2 separate regions of the Homo sapiens genome follow, and region 1 is linked to region 2. Evidence: promoter capture Hi-C in human tissues and cell types (Jung and others, 2019). All regions are on one chromosome and are shown on one strand. Each heading gives the region's core, a stretch centred on a gene start or on the middle of the fragment in contact. The rest is flanking DNA. Distances are from core to core; before and after follow the strand shown.

The links. Contacts are between HindIII fragments. The study calls those that stand out against the background at their distance.
Region 1: a fragment that was not itself captured here is called in contact with the fragment with the promoter of ZNF99 in region 2 in 2 of the 25 tissues and cell types used here (dorsolateral prefrontal cortex and stomach).

What each region holds. Positions count from the first base shown.
Region 1 is chr19:22,300,380-22,303,369 of GRCh38, reverse strand. All of the region lies in intron 1 of ZNF729 (zinc finger protein 729), which reads right to left. Among named protein-coding and RNA genes, the nearest start is that of ZNF729, 15 kb to the right of the region's middle. The HindIII fragment of the contact is 4,203 bases long and covers 1-2,990 here.
Region 2 is chr19:22,782,658-22,785,631 of GRCh38, reverse strand. ZNF99 (zinc finger protein 99) reads left to right here and starts at 1,481. Exons shown (of 4, transcript NM_001080409.3): 1 at 1,481-1,618. The coding sequence starts at 1,616. The HindIII fragment of the contact is 12,356 bases long and covers 1-2,974 here.

The DNA.
Region 1 (2,990 bases), core at 302-2,801, 480 kb after region 2:
AACTGGAGATCTTGTTATGCATATTTATTTTAGAAGATCTAGAATAAAGTCTGAGTTTCTGAATTTCTGACAAGCTCACCAGTGATGCCTGTTTTTGGCCCAAAAAAGAATCTTTTGTCAAACATTCAGCAAGTGGGGGAACCTGTGTTTTTCCCAGTTTTTCTGGCCTGTAAACAAAGATGAGAGACTTCATTTTCCAAAGATAGATATATGCAAAGAAAATCTAAGAAAGAAAGGCAGGTGCCAGATTAAATGTGATCACTGGTGCACATCAGCTGCATAAAGATACTTAAAAGGCCAGGCGCAGTAGCTCACTCCTGTAATCCCAGCACTTTGGGAGGCTGAGGTGGGTGGATCATCTGAGGTCAGGAGCTCAAGACCAGCCTGGCCAACATGGTGAAACCCCATCTCTAATAATAGTACAAAAATTAGCCAGGCATGGTGGCACGCTATTCTGGAGGCTGAGGCAGGAGAATCACTTGAACTCAGGAGGTGGAGGTTGCAGTGAGCTGAGATTGCGCCACTGCACTCCCGCTCTAGAAATGAAGCAGGATTCCCCAGCCAAAACTCTAATCTCTTTTATCCAGTTCTGTGAGGTAAGACTCCAGGGTGGGACCTGACCTAAATAAGGCCTCCAAAAACAGTGGATCTAAACAGAACTTGGCCAGGGAGTGGACCCTATGTAGAATTCTGTTCTCTATGCTACTGGGAGTGCTTCCAGTTTTGTTTTTCCTAAGCTTACCTAAGATGCACTTAAATCCCAGAATCTGTGTAATTTAAATATTTTTTTAGACAGTGCCCAATTTTATGACATATACTAATAAGCAATTTAAACCAGTCTTTTATGGTTCCTAGGGTAATTTTATTAAAATATACATATGTATTCTACCAAGGTAAAATAAATAGAAATAAACATAAACATCCCTTCAAGTGATGACATCAGAAGTCAGAAGAATATAAAGTAGTCCAAATAAAGCCCAAGCGTTTCTGCACACATCTGTTTATTGTACCAATGATATGATGACGTTTAATTCAACCATGTACCCAGTTGCTAGTCTAGACTATAAGTTCCTGGGTGGTAGGGACCATGACTCCCTCATCTATTTTTTTAATGGCCACATGAAATGGAAGCTATTAGTTTACCTGTTTGAGTCTCAGGACCTCCTTCTTGTTTTTCACCCAAGTACCAAGAAACTGGAGAAACTCTTGTCTGGGTACCAACTAAAGGTATCTCTTGTATGAGGGGAGGAACAAACACAGGATGACTCATTTCTCTTATACTGAGACAGAAGCAGAATTAACCACTTTTGTCAGCTTGACACAGTTCTGCTCTGGACATCCTCAAATGTCTCAAAGATGCCTAGGTGATTGTGAGAGGGTTTCCAGTGACTCTGGGCTAATGACCCAATGATGAGCCAGGCAGAAGAGACTCAGGCTGGTTATAAATAGAAAATGGAACCGCCCTGGTTAAGCTCCAGAATCTAGATCACCTCTTCTGATTTGCTAGCTCTTGGGTAAGAGAAATAACAATACTCTACTCCAGTATCACATTTTACAGGTAGGTATAGTTGTAGTCATGGCTCTGGTTACTCTGTGGCCTTGATCTCTCACTCCTAAGATGCCTGTTTATACTTACAGATTCTGTCATCAGATTTTATTTATACCTGGAGTCTCTCACATACCTGTAACAGGTCACTGGAAAAGATCTGAAAATCTCACAGAGCCACAGTCTCAAAGAAAAGATTTAAGATCTCTACGTTGACATCTCACAATACAGAAAATGTCTTCTGCTGGTTTTCTGCATACTCTCAATTCAAAGTTTGGCCCTGTCTTGTAAATCTTAGGCAGAGGCCAGATCTTATGTGCAGATTCCAGGTGGGATCAACCAGACTCTGCCTCCTTGGGTGTTACAGCAAACAGAGTACAATCAAAGGAGAGATCTCATCATAGACACTACTCTGGCACATTCTAAATATGTCTACCTAAAACGAAAAAGCTGAGAAAATATAGATTTAAGTTGACAGTTTATTTGGGCCAAGCTTGAGGACTGTAACCTGGGAGCAAATATTCAAGTTGCCCGCAACATACACTTGATTAGCAGTGTGATTACAAGTTGATTTGTAAAGGCTAAAAAAGATGGACAGAGAGTGGGTTGATACAAAGTTGTTTGTCAGAAATTTTTATTATTTACAGGAATAACATTGATTATTGATTGGATATACACCATTAAGTTTTACGGTACAAGTTATAGTGTCCAGTGTGCATTATTAATATATAGCTACTTGTGGCAATAGCAAACAGCTTCAAAAGATGAATACATAGTTCAAAAAACAAAAAGAGAAACATAATTCTGCTCTCATTTTAATGTCTCTATAAGTTGGACAACCAAAAGGACTTGCATCTCTCAGAAAGAAAGTTTTTCTTTTTTCTCAAATCTGAAGACCTGGATTCAGAATTTGAAGTTGCAGTTTTAGGTTCTGAATGGATGGGATAGCAGCAGGTTTTCCCTGCACATTTGTGGGCATTTTAGCAAGATGAAGAAAAAGGAAGTACAGATTCCCAAGTGTACATGTCTACTCAATGCACATATGTTACTCTGATTGGGTTTCTGGGCCCCATAGTCTGTGAATCAGTTTCAGTTCGGAAGATACAAGAGTCACTGAAAAACATAAAATGGTTGATTGCTGCCCTGTGAAGTTTGTAGAATTCTGATCTAGCTTCTCTAAAAGTTACTGTGGAGGATTAAAGATACCAAATTGGCAGAGAAGCAATTCTGCCTGCATATTTAGGGGACAGTATGCACTTTGCAGCACAATTGTGAATTGACTGATAGCCTGAGAGGGAAAGTTTCCTCTAGAGTAAAGCTTGGGTGGCACCTTATATTTATATATCATGTCTGATAATTCTAGACAGTTTTTGTGAAACATAATTAAAAGATAAATTTTCTTCAGCCCCAGAGAAACTCCACAATAGAACAGACATAAAACTGT
Region 2 (2,974 bases), core at 232-2,731:
AAAGTTGGAGGCCTCGTAAGAGAATGCTGAGTAATGCAGAAATATATGTGGACATGTATGCATGTAATTGGTGCCTATACTCACACAGTCCCCCATACCACAGGAGAAAACAGATAACCACAGCCTGACCATTAGGGCCAAGGACAAATAGAAAAGTAAGTTTTCCTTTAATCTATTTTCTTCATATCTAAACATTGGAGGTCAAGACTGTGCACAGATTTGAAGACACAGAGATTTCTTCTCCTGTGGCCTTACCATCCTTAGTTCACCTTCTGATCTCTGGAATAAAGGTAGGCAACAGGTGGCCAGCAGTGGTCTACCTGTGGTTGTTTTTTCCTGCTGTCCTGTGCTTTATTTATGGCTACTATCTGTTCCTCCCTCAGAGCTGAAGAGAGATGTTGGTAGGGAAAGGCTCTTTTTCCATCTTTGGCAGAAAAGGTTTGTTCAGGCCCTTCCCTCTCCTAAGGTCAGAGCTGCACTTCAATGTGGCAGCTACTGGCCATGTGTGGCGACTGAGTGCCTGGAATGTGGCTGGTCTGAACTGTGATGTGCTGGAAAGGTAAAATACAGAGTTAGTTTCAAAGATGAAGTTCCAAAAAATATCTACACTTCATTTATAATTTACATTTTGCTTACGTATTAAGATGATATTTTGGATATATTGGGTTAATTAAATTGCTACAATAAATTCCACCTGTTTTTTTTTTTTTTAATTTTTAAAGTTTGGCTACTAGAAAATTTAAAATACAATTTTATTTCAGAGGATTGCCTTCTTTTTAAAACCTCAGGCAATCTGATGAAAAAACCAGAAGCCAGGAAGGTCATAAACTCTGAAAATTTTAGATAATTGTTATATTCTTTTCATTTGTGAATAACCATATAATATATTATTTATAAAAGAATGTGACCTTATACAAAAGGTTAAATGCAAATACCCTCTGGGGTTGGCCTGGCTCAGTTCAGGAAGGAAGCCCTGCCTGAAAAGGCTGCAGCCTAGACTGTCATCCTTTCCTTTCTTTTTCTTTTCTTTTCTTTTTTTCGTGACAGAATCTCGCTCTGTCATCCAGGCTGGAGTGCACTGGCGCGATCTCGGCTCACTGCAACCTCCGCCTCCTGAGTTTAAGCAATTCTCGTGCCTCAGCCTCCGGAGTAGCTGGGATTACAGGCGCCCGCCACCACACCAGCCTAATTTTTATTTTTAGTAGAGACCGGGTTTTGCCATGTTGGCCAGGCTGGTCTCCAACTCCTGACCTCTGGTGATTCACCCGCCTCGGCCACCCAAAGTGCTGGGATTACACGCGTGAGCCACCGCGCCCGGCCCGTCACTCTTCATTCAGCTCAGCATCAGATCACATCTTCTGTCACTCAGGGCCTGAGGAGGCGGGGATTTAAACATTATCCAATCAGGGACTCTGGGCTGGGAACCGTCCAATCAGGCACTCAGCTGGAGCGGAAAGGGCGGCTTGTGGGATGTGGCGGGGCCGTTGTTTCTGGTTCCAGCTGGAGCTCCGGATCTCGTTTTTACTGCTCTGTGTCCTTAGCCTCTGTGGCCCTGTGACCTGTAGGTATTTGGAGATCCACAGCTAGGACGCCAGGACCCCCTGGAAGCTTAGAAATGGTGAGAGTGCCGGGTCCGATATCCTGAGAAGGGGAAGGGGCTGACTGGAACCGGTGGAAAGTGGCTGTGGCGGGACTCAGGCCTCCCCTCAGTGAGCTCCACAGTCTGCGCCCCGAGCTCTTGCCCAGCTCGGCCTCAGTCTCCTTCAGCCATAAGATGGCGGCTGCGCTGACTGCGGGACCCCGGGCGACCTGCCTCCTTCCTGCACTGTGACTATGCCCTGGCCTGGAGCCCTCTCTGGGCCGCTCTTCACCCGCAGCGCCTCCTCTCTCACAGATTGTGCAGGGACCACGGGAGGGGCGTCAGGGGAGAATCCTGACTCCGGGTGCGGGTTCATGAATGGGAAGAGCTTTGGTCCAGTGAGGTTTCCAGTCCCTCTTTTCTCCTATTAAAAATTGATGGCAGTCATCACTAAAGTAATAAAGGATTTAATCAAAGAGTGATTCAAAAATGGCAGAGCACCCAGCTGTGGTTTGTAGTTTATGGTCTATGGAAGGGATTTGACGGAAAGAGTTTTATAAGGTGCATAATGAAGAAAACCAAATTCAGTAATGGGTTATGTACAGTTACGTAGATTCTTAATTTGTACAATCAAGATGGAAATTTCCCGTTTATATAATCAGAGGTTAATTGTAGTTTATAGTTGGTTAAGCCTGAATTTTGTTTCCCCCAATGTAGTAATTTACAAAAAAAAAAGCACTTGAATTATTAATATTTTTTTCTTTCTTTTTTTGAAACGGAGTTTTGTTCTTGTTGCCCAGGCTGGAGTGCAGTGGCGCGATCTCGGCTCAACGCAACTTCCGCCTCCCAGGTTCAAGCGATTCTCCTGCCTCAGCCTCCCGAGTAGCTGGGATTACAGGCATCCGCCACCACACCCGGCTAATTTTTGTGTTTTTAGTAGAGACGAGGTTTCTCCGTTTTGGTCAGGCTGGTCTCGAACTCCCGACGTCAGGTGATCTGCCCTCCTCCGCCTCCCAGAGTGCTGGGATCACAGACATGAGCCACCGCGTCCGGCCGAATTAGATTTTTTAAAAAGTAGATTATCAGGCCTGGCTCGGTGGCTTACACCTGTAATCCCAGCACTTTGGGAGGCCGAGGCGGGTGAATCACGAAGTCAGGAGTTCTAGACCAGCCTGGCTAACATGGTAAAACTCCGTCTCTAATAAAAATACAAAAATTAGCCGGGAGTGTGGCAGATGCCTGTAATCCCAGTTTCTCGGGAGGCTGAGGCAGATAATCGCTTGAACCCGGGAGGCAGAGGTTGCTGTGAGCTGAGATTGCGCCACTGCACACCAGCCTGGGCAAGAGAGGGAGACTCCCTCTCATATTAAAAAAAAAAAAAAAAAAAAAAAGGCC